Regions from separate parts of the Homo sapiens genome. Here region 2 is linked to region 1. Evidence: promoter capture Hi-C in 16 types of primary human blood cells and fetal thymus (Javierre and others, 2016). All regions are on one chromosome and are shown on one strand. The core of a region is centred on a gene start or on the middle of the fragment in contact, and the rest is flanking DNA. Distances in the headings are between cores, read along the strand shown.

Region 1 (5,361 bases), core at 921-3,420:
GTTGGCCAAAGGAGGATGTCGCAGACACTTTCTGGTGAAAAGTTGTTCTTGGGTGGGGAGTGCCGTCACTGTCACTGGTCCCTTGGCAGGGCCACGGCGTTCCCTCTTCCTATTCTTTTCTTCCCTACCTTCCCCCACATCCCTCCTTTAAGGTGGCCAAGAAGAGTGGGAGATGGGAAAATTCAGAACTCATTCCAGATCTTGCAAAAATAGGTTGTGAAAGCTGCCCCCATTACGGACCTCACAGGACCAGCCAAGGCCAAGACACTTCTACAAATAATCAGGGATGGGCATAAAGACTAAGCTACAAAGCCATGCATCAAAGTATTGGGTATAACAAGAAAATCTAGAAATAATGTAAACGTCTACCAAAGGGATACTGACCAACTTCACAATGGTACGTCCAAACAATGCAATACTGCACAGCTAAAAAACAGTATTGTCGCTGAAGAGCTGACATGAAAATATAGCCAAATGGCCAGGCGTGGTAGCTCACGCCTGTAATCCCAGCACTTTGGGAGGCCGAGGTGGGTGGATCACCTGAGGTCAGGAGTTCAAGACCAGCCTGGCCAACATGGGGAAACCCTGTCCCTACTAAAAATACAAAAATTAGCCAGTTGTGGTGGCACACACCTGTAGTCCCAGCTACTTGGGAGGCTGAGGCAGGAGAATCGCCTGAATCCAGGAGGCAGAGGTTGCAGTGAGCTGAGATCGTGCTCCAGCTTGGGCAACAGAGTGAGACTCCGTCTCAAAAAACTAAATAAATAAATACAAAAATTAGCTGGTCGTGGTGGCAGGTGCCTGTAATCCCAGCTACTCGGGAGGCTGAGGCAGGAGAATCGCTTGAACTCAGGAGGCAGAGGTTGCAGCCAGCCTCCTGGCTGCATTTATATAAAGTTTAAGAACAGGCAAAATTAATCTAGCAGGGTAGAAGTGGTAATAGTGGCTGATAGCAGTAAGCAATTTGACTGGAAGAGGGCTCAGGGAACCTTCTGGGATACTGGAAATGCTCTTTATTTTAATCTTGGAGGTGGTTATAGAAGTCTATCCATATGTAAAAATTCATTGAGATGAATACACTTAAGAATATGTACTTTATGTAATACCCCATAAGACATTTTTTTTAAAATACTTAAAAATAAAAGAAAAAACATAATTTAACAGAGGGCATAGTTCTCAAGCTGTTTTCTCTGTCTCAGGACCCCTTTACACACGTTACTGAGGGTGCCCAAGAGCTTTTAGTTTTGTGGGTTATATTTACTATGGACATTAAAGTTGAGAAACGTTTAAAAAACAATACACAATTCCTAGAGCAGTGACGTCATCACGTCAAGCAGCCTCTGGAAAACTTGACTGTTCACTCAGAGAGAATGAAAAAGACAAGTAACATCTTAGCATTATTATGAAAGTAATTTTGACTTCGGGGACTCCCAAATCGAGTGAATTTAGGAAATCTCAGTGGTCCCCAGACGGCACTTTGAGAACCACTGGCGCAGGGAGAAAATGACAGAAGAAAACACACTACACGACAACAGTTATTCTCTCTCAGTGCTGGGATTATAATTTATTTGCTTCTTTGTGCTTTTCTGTCAAAAAAAAAAGGTAAACGGAAATGGAAAATACAATGACCACGTATTGTTTCTGCGAGCAAAAAACGAGACGGCACACTCGCCTCCCTAAGATTGCTGAAAGGCCCAAACAGCAATAGCATATTTAGCTGTATGGAAGAATTAAACTGAGCTCAAACCTGAAAATAAAAGTCCGATTTCCCGTTTGTCAATGCCTGGGCTGTGAGGTGCAGGGTCTTGCCCTCAAAAGCTCCACCGTTCACCTTGGGGAGAGAATATACTCGCATACATAACTGTGGTGCAAGGTTCCCAGGGCCCCAAGGGTAGCGGCTACATCCTACACACTATTGTAAACTTCAGTGTGCAACAGAACCATCCATTACAGCTGCAAGGCGCTCCATCCCGGGGTTCAGCCCTCAAACTAGTCAGTGACCCTCCGCAGGACGCATGCGCGCTTACAAACGCAGTTGGGCGGGGCTTGAGAGAGCTGACAGACTTCGGCCTCTCAACTTTCTAGCTCCGCCCTAATATCCTGTCTCCTTCTCTGAATGGCTGAAAGGCTGCGGAAGCAAGCTTCCCATTGGCAGCGGACAGAATTCACATCCGGTTTGCACGCCGGACCGGAGAGCGCGGAGGCAGCCATGGTGCGGTTCAAGCACAGGTAAGCATTCCCTTCCAGACCCTCCCAGTGCCTTGCTGGGTCCTCGCGGCCCCGCTAGTGTCCACCTTCCTCTCGCCTGCCGCAGGTACCTGCTCTGCGAACTGGTGTCTGACGACCCCCGCTGCCGCCTAAGCCTCGATGACCGAGTTCTGAGCAGCCTCGTACGGGACACGATCGCCAGGGTGCACGGAACTTTCGGCGCAGCCGCCTGCTCCATCGGCTTCGCGGGTGCAAGGGCGCTGGGGGAAGAGGGGAACCCGGGAGGATGGCGGGATGTGGAGGGGGCAGGCGCCGGAGGAAGAAAGAAGGGGCACGAGTGGCCAAGCCCGTGCACCGTTTTTTGTAAGGTATCTCTTTAAGCGCCTGGGACCCCAAGCGAGAGTCCGAAATTAGCAGAGCGCTAAAAGGAGGGGCCCGAAGGCAGTGGGGCTTTGAGCTAGAAGCCTCTTTTTACCTGCTTGACAGGTAATTTCTGTAATTGGTTGTGATTGAATTTGATAGGGTAGAGAATTAAATGAGGGAAGCTGTGTATACTTCCTAGTAAGAGCTATTATATGACCGATTACATTAACATCATATGGAAAAAAATTGTCAAAAGTACTCCGGGAAAGCCCTTAAATAGTTGGTAAAGTACAGAACACATGATTGTCAATATATGTAAATACAGGATGAGCTAGGACAGAGGGGCCCTTCTTTCACACCACTTAAATTAGTTCCCACTTTAACCTTGTTTGAGATTGACTTCTGGAGAGTTAAATGCAGATAGACTTAACTCTCCTAAGTCAGGTGAGACTGAGAGCTGACTGCTACAATAATTACGGAGCCCAAATGCAGTAAAACAGCCTGTTTTTCAGGCAAGGGTTTTGTGGGGGTTTTTCCTAAATTAAAACGGATCGCCTCCTACCTGCTCCTATTTATTGAATTAACTAGTGAATTAGAAAGCATTTTCAATTCTAAATTCATTCACCAGTTCTGAGTGGTGTGCAACACAGTGGGTGTTTTGGCTTTTCTCTTTTACTCGCTGATAGATCTACGTGCCACTTGCCTACAACATACTTTTGGCACATAGTAGGCTCTGTTACTCCAAAGTTTTCCTTTTTTCGAGACAGTCTGGCTGTTGCCCAGGCTGCTGGAGTGCAGCAGCGAGATCGGGGGTCATTGCTGCCTCTGCCTCCTGGGTTCAGGCGATTCTCATGCCTCAGCCTCCTGAGTGGCTGGAATTACAGGTGCGCACCACCACACCCAGCTAATTTTTGTATTTTTAGTAGAGACGGGGTTTCATCATGTTGGCCAGGCTGGCCTCGAACTCCTGACTTAAAGTGATCTGCCCGCCTCAGCCTCCCAAAGTGCTGGGATTACAGGCGTGAGCCACCACACAGAGCAAAAGTTTTCCAAAATGATTTTTCTTTCCTGTTGTAGTTCGATATCTCAATGCCTATACTGGAATAGTGCTACTTCGATGCAGAAAAGAATTCTATCAGCTTGTGTGGTCAGCTCTTCCCTTCATCACATACTTGGAGAACAAAGGACACCGTTACCCATGCTTTTTCAACACATTACATGTGGGAGGTAGGAGTGAGGTGGTATGGCTACTGATTTTCAATTGGTGACACGTTCACAGTTCAGTCTAAACTGGTGGGTGGGTCTTGCTGCTGTCCCGCTAACAAGACACTTCCCCCTACCTCTGAAAGTCTGTAAGGTCGAGATCTTTCACAAGCTGTTGACCACAGTAACTCATATGCCAGGTACAATAAGAACATGTCAGAAGTTCCTAATTCAGTACAACAGGAGACAGCTGTTGATCTTGTTGCAGAACTGCACTGATGAAGGTAAGCAACACTAGCCCAGTGCCCACTGAGCAGTGACTGACCTTAAGCTGAAGAAATCACTCCCAAAGATATCTTTCATCCCTGTTATCTGCCTTCTCCAGGAGAGCGGGAAGCTATCCAGAAGTCTGTGACAAGAAGCTGCTTATTAGAGGAGGAGGAGGAGTCAGGTGAGGAGGCTGCAGAAGCAATGGAGTGAACCTCTGCTCCCCACACAGCTGGCTACACTGCTCAGGCTTCAGGCCCACTTGTTGAACAGAACAATCTGGGTAGCAACAGCATCTTCCACAGTTTTCCAAACTGGATAGCTGCCAACCAGCAGACATTACCCACTTGAAATGGAGTACTCAGTTAAACTGAAGTTGCCTTTACCTAGCATTCCCTGGTGAAGTGTTGCAGGTTGTGAACTCTGTAGACATCTTTATTGCTTGGCTAAGAGTAGATTTAATAAATGTATCTGGTTTCCGTGGCATTTAGCATACTTATATTACAGAAAGGGCTTATGGAGTCCATGCTTGGCCAAGTCTCTGTTCTCTCTCTATCCCTAGCCTTGGTGGGAAGACTGACTCCCTATGTGGTACTAGTTAAACTTTTTTTTTTGAGACAGTCTCAGTCTATCACCCAGGCTGGAGTGTAGTGGCCCAGTATCGGCTCACTGCAACCTCCGCCTCCTGGGTTCAAGCAATTCTCCCACCTCAGCCTTCCAAGTAACTGGGATTACAGACGTGCACCACCACGTCTGGCTAATTTTTGTATTTTTAGTAGAGACGGGGTTTTGCCATGTTGGCCAGGCTGCTGTTGAACTCCTGGCCTCAAGTGATCGGCCTACCTTGGCCTCCAAAAGTGCTGGGATTAAAGGGTGAGCCACTGTGCCTGGCCTAAATTTTCAATACTTAGCCTTCTACCTGAAGCTTTGTACCCCCGGCCCCATGATGGGCCCTAAGCAAGCCAAGTCATTTGGAATAGAAATATTAGTTGAGACACAGCAACTGAACTGGCAGAGATCTACAGCCCATCTCAGTACTGAACCACAGGGTCTTACAGATACCAGATTCCTTGCCAATAGTTAATCAGGTAACTTAAAAAATACAACTTTGGGCCGGGCGCAGTGGCTCACACCTGTAATCCCAGCACTTTGGGAGGCTGAGGCGGCCAGATCACAAGGTCAGGAGATCAAGACCATCCCGTCTAACGCAGTGAAACCCTGTCTCCACTAAAAATACAAAAAATTAGCTGGGCATGGTGGTGGGTGCCTGTAATCTCAGGTACTCAGGAGGCTGAGGCAGGAGAATGGCGTGAACCCGGG
Region 2 (5,326 bases), core at 1-2,500, 1.9 Mb before region 1:
TTCTTGGCCCCGCCCTCTTCACGGTCTTTACACTCCCCTATGAAAGAACACCCAATCACCGCCTCGAATTGCGTTGTTATAGAAACTTTTGTTACCGCCCCTTTTTCTCCCAGCAAGCTGTGCGACGCGCCGGGCCTCCTCGCCTTTGTGCCATCCGGGTCTCTCGCGCGAGCGATTTAGTCTGAGGCGAAGCTTCGGAGCGGCCGGTACTGTTGAAAGCGACAAGTGGAGGCGCCGCTCTAGCGGCCGGGACTCTGAACTATGGCGGTAGGTACCGAATCTGAGTTTAAAGCCAGGGATATTTTTCTGCTACGTTCCAACAGTGGGTGAACGGCTCCCAGAACCTTGTTCGTGTGTATGTGTGTAGACAAAATGGCGCCGCGGCCTTCTTCTGCGCCCGCCATCATGGCTGCCTGCTGTAGGGAGGGGGAAGTAAGGCGGTGTTGGTGGGGGTGGGGAGCCGCAGGGAGTGCCTTTTTTTTTCCAGAACTTTCCTCCTCTCTTCCCCAACCCTACGTTCCTTTCGCCTCACTGAACTTCCTCCATTTTCGCTTATTCACCCTGGCTAGTGATTTATTCTAAGTTTTTTTTAGGGCCTGAGAATTTGCGGTGGAGAAAGGGGCTGGGGAAGAGAAAGACGATCAGGAGTGGTCTCTGAAAAGTATTGGGTCAAAAAGGCAGTGTCTGTAAAGGGTAGTGTGGGAGAAGAGAGCGACTTGTAGCTATTTTTTTTTTTGTACGCTCAATGAGATGCTTCTAGTTGCATAATTTCAATTAGTGTTCGTCCGTGTAAACCTTATTATTGTGTATTAACGAGCTAGGAAGGTATTGCTGAAAGGGAGTGAAAATTCAACTTAAAAGGTTGTGGAACTACCAATTCTGACTGATGCGCGGTTTCCGAAGTGGCCCGTGATGTAATCAATTTGAAGTCCGAGAAGCGTTACAGTTAAGTCTTGTCACTGACCTTGTTCCTTTAAATTTAAACCCTTCGTTGGCCGGGCGCGGTGGCTCACGCCTGTAATCCCAGCACTTTGGGAGGCCGAGGCGGGCGGATCACGAGGTCAGGAGATCGAGACCATCCCGGCTAAAACGGTGAAACCCTGTCTCTACTAAAAATACAAAAAAATTAGCCGGGCGTAGTGGCGGACGCCTGTAGTCCCAGCTACTTGGGAGGCTGAGGCAGGAGAATGGCGTGAACCCGGGAGGCGGAGCTTGCAGTGAACCGAGATCCCGCCACTGCACTCCAGCCTGGGTGACAGAGCGAGACTCCGTCTCAAAAAAAAAAAAAAAAAAAAAAAAAAAAAAAAAAAAAACTCTTCGTTGACCCCAGAGGAGCTACAGTTCGTAAATTATCTATTCTGAACAATAAGCCTGCGTGTGTATAAGATACCCAATTCTGACGGATCCACATTATTTTGTGCTTACCTCATTTTTATTCCGTTAAAAGGAAAATGTAAAGATTTTGCATTCCTTTTTACTGACTAAAAAATTACATCATTTTCGATAATAATTATGACTCTTAAACATAGTGATAGTTTTAAAGTTTGCTCTTCCTAACGATTGGAATGCCTGGGATTAGGCAGATGATTTTCTTTTTCCCCCATACCCCTCTATTATTTAGGTGATTGAGTTTAAACCCGTTTCTTTTACTGTCTTCCTTTGTTTAGTGTTTTGGGCCTCAGTATACTTAAAGAGTAATACTATTTTTCTTGGGTTGCAGGTTTTTTTGTATTTTTTCGAGACGGAGTTTTGCTCTTGTCGCCCAGGCTGGAGTGCGATGGCGCGATCTTGGCTCACTGCAACCTCCGCCTCCCGGGTTCAAGCGATTCTCCTGCCTCAGACTCCCGAGTAGCTGGGATTACAGGCGCCCACCACCACACCCGGCTAATTTTTTTATATTTTTGGTAGAGACGGGGTTTCACCACGTCGGCCAGGCTGGTCTCGAACTCCTGACCTCAGATGATCCACCCGCCTCGGCCTCCCAAAGTGCTGGGATTACAGGAGTGAGCCACCGCGCCCGGCCGGGTTCTAGTATTTTAAAAAGTGAATTTAAACATTTATTTATGCCGTGCCTTGTTCAATAAAAAGACAGTCCCCTAGAGAAGTGACCTAGTATTCAATCCAGTGCTTACCTCCTTCGCAGTGGAAAAAGATTTGTCTATGTTTCGAGCCGTTATTAGAGTTTGCAACAAAATGTAAATTATAAGAAACCAAAGTGGCTACCTCGTAGAGCCACTGCTGGAATAGAAGGCTGTTTTGCAGTTAACGTTTATGTGTACACATAGATTAGTACTAAATTAAAGCTTAGAAAATTTCAGAGCAATTTTAATACTCAGTTTTTGGTAGGTTTTTTTCCTGGATACCTGTATTATGCTACTATAAAATATCCTCAGGGAAATAAAAGTTTTCCATGGCCTCAATGACCACCTATCATTCCTATTTGTTTAGTGTTAAGATGGTTTTTGTTGTTGCTCTGTAGTATATTTTACAGATGAAAATGGTTGATGATGTAAGTTTAAGTTAGCCTATGTCACAGGGAGGTTTCTCTGTTGTCCAGCTTTGTGATGTTAAGCATGAAGTTAAAGTTAGATAAACCATTGCCTGAAAACTGCCTAGGCTAAGCACTAGATTTTCCATGAGAAGGTTGTTTTCGATTCTAGTCTTGTTCTCTGCAAAAGTAAATGGGATTTGCCACTAGTTAAGGAATTCTGTCTCTGGCAAAAGTGTCGTGCAACTGAGAGAAGTAATAGCGGTGCTTAAAATTTTCGAGATCACTTCTGTTTACCAAGTGTAAGCTGTACAAACACTCAGCAAGTAATAAATGAGTCTGAAATAGTCCTCAAGGATAACGATGAAAAAAAAAAGTGTCCAGAATTCATTGTGAAAAATCAGAATCATCCTTAATGATACAGCATTATTTATTAGTAGTAAACAGTAAAGATACGGAGATGCAGTATCATTTTAAGCAAGTCAGCTAATGTTGCTGGATCTCATCTGTGAAACGAGAAAGTTGAACTCTATTCTAAGGGGTGAAAACCTTTCAGCATAAAAATTTTATGGTTCCAGAAGTCACCCAGACTGGAGAAATAAGTACATATACAATATGCTGGCATGAGAGCCTCCCTGGTAGTTAATTTCTTACTGTTCTTTTTGTGCCATTGTTAGAGGAATAACACGTAATTTATGTCTTTCATCTCATAATTGAACTGCAAAACCTTTCTGTTTTTAATTTATCATTTTATTCCCTAAGTCTAGCATTGGTTTTGGCACATTTTTGACCCTTAGTAAATACTTGTTGAAGTAACTCGACCTCTCACAACTTCATTTATTAAAGTACAATACACCCATTTATTGTACTTGATACTTGTTTAAAATTTGTTAAAATACAATACCCCCATTTATTGTACTTGATATTTGGTATTCATTTTCTGGACTAACTTTCCTAAAGGAGGAAGTTCTCTAATGTGATTCCTCCTGCTGAAGACTATCGATTCCCTATTTATTCAATCCAGATTCCGTTTGATGTTATACGTGAAAAGTCCATAAACTGTTTCTGTAAAGGGCCAGACGGTAAATATTTTTGGCTTTGTGGGCCATGTGCAGTCTCTGTCACATTCTTTCCCAGGCTGGAGGGGCAGTGGCGCAATCTTAGCTCACTTCAACGTCTGCCTCATGGGTTCAAGCCATTCTCCTGTCTCAACCTCCTGAGTTGCTGGGATTACAGGCACGCCCCACCACTCTTGGCTAATTTTTGTGTTTTTAGTAGAAGCAGGGTTTTACCATGTTGGCTAGGCTGGTCTCAAACTCCTGACCTCAGGTTATCCGCCTGCCTCAACCTCCCAAAGTGCTAGGATTACAGGCATGAGCCACAACACTGGCGTTTTAAGTGCCTTTAGTTTTAACAGTTCAGTCTTTACAGTGCTATTTACTGAAGTTATTTATTAAATATGCCTAAAATAGTTTTAAAAAACGTAAAAAACCATTCCTAGCTCAAGGCCATACAGAAACAGAATGAGGACCATAGCTTGCCAACCCTTCCTAAGTAATCAATTCCCCAGGTGTATCAATTATTTTATTTTCATGTTATCTTCTCTGGTCAGATAGCCGAGCATTGTCTACCTTCTGCATTAGTTGAAACTTGTAAAATTTATATTGTAATAATTACTTATAAAATGCTTTAAAGCAGAAACAACTTAATGTTTTCATAGCCCAGAGCACATGTGAGGAGAGGCAGACCATATTTTGCAGCAGCACTGTGCCAAGGGGCTGTTTTCATTAAAGAGGGTTAATGACATTAAGATGAGGTTCTCACTTAGGTAAGTTAATTTTCTGTTTATTATTTTATAATATTCTTAGGGCATTGTTTTAAGATTTTATCGTCTTGAGTATCTTTAAGCTTTAACAACTCATTTTTGATGTTTGACATGTATGCTAATTTAAAAGTATTGGTAAAGTCAGCTAAATGCATTCACACATCTAAAAAGGACTATTTTCTCTGCTTGAATGCTTATTAGAACTACTTGGAGCCCTTATTCCTCCCCCACCCCACCCCATGTTTTAAAAGTTATACAAATCATCGTTAGAAAATTAAAGATACATCAGTCTAAATATGTAGGTCTTGCTTTAGTATCAGGTTCGTCATTTCAAGCCATTCAGCCTTATTAGTGTACAAAGCACATTTAGTTACTTGGAAAGCAGGCATTCTGATTTATTGATTGTGGGGGGCTATCTTCCCTCCCTTTGTCCCTCTTTTAAGAAATTGAAAACATTTAAAATGTAATTAAGAACTTTAATCATTTGTTTTTAAACTTTTAGGCTAGTGATACAGAGCGAGATGGACTAGCCCCAGAAAAGACATCACCAGATAGAGATAAGAAAAAAGAGCAGTCAGAAGTATCTGTTTCTCCTAGAGCTTCAAAACATCATTATTCAAGATCACGATCAAGGTCAAGAGAAAGAAAACGAAAGTCAGGTATGAATTCTTAAAGGTGGTTACAACTCTCAGCATTTGTATAAGATATGTAGACCTGTTGTATAAGAAGACACATACATTTAGTTTGTTGGCTGGGCATGGTGGCTCAAGCCTGTAATGCCAGCACTTTGGGAGGCCAAGGCAGGCAGATCACCTGAGCCAGGACCAAAAATACAAAAATTGACACACTCTCAGCCCAATGCAACCTCCATCTGCTGGGTTCAGGCAGTTCTTCTGCCTCAGCCTCCTGAGTAGCTGGGATTATAGGCGTGCGCCACCACGCCTAGCTTATTTTTGTATTTTTAGTAGAGACTGGGTTTCACCATGTTGGAACATATCAAATATAATTCAACC

Evidence for each region. The method cuts DNA at HindIII sites, captures the fragments that hold promoters and counts their contacts. A CHiCAGO score of 5 or more calls a contact.
Region 2: a fragment that was not itself captured here is called in contact with the fragment with the promoter of POP5 in region 1 in 1 of 17 cell types (fetal thymus); the score reaches 5.4 in fetal thymus.

The regions. Positions count from the first base shown.
Region 1 is chr12:120,578,211-120,583,571 of GRCh38, reverse strand. It overlaps POP5 (POP5 ribonuclease P/MRP subunit), which reads left to right and starts at 2,170. Exons shown (of 5, transcript NM_015918.4): 1 at 2,170-2,229; 2 at 2,315-2,457; 3 at 3,649-3,798; 4 at 3,975-4,058; 5 at 4,160-4,808. The coding sequence starts at 2,210. The coding sequence ends at 4,254. The HindIII fragment of the contact is 2,825 bases long and covers 2,144-4,968 here.
Region 2 is chr12:122,521,789-122,527,114 of GRCh38, reverse strand. It overlaps RSRC2 (arginine and serine rich coiled-coil 2), which reads left to right and starts at 179. Exons shown (of 10, transcript NM_023012.6): 1 at 179-267; 2 at 4,816-4,972. The coding sequence starts at 262. RefSeq lists an enhancer at 40-499. The HindIII fragment of the contact is 2,111 bases long and covers 195-2,305 here.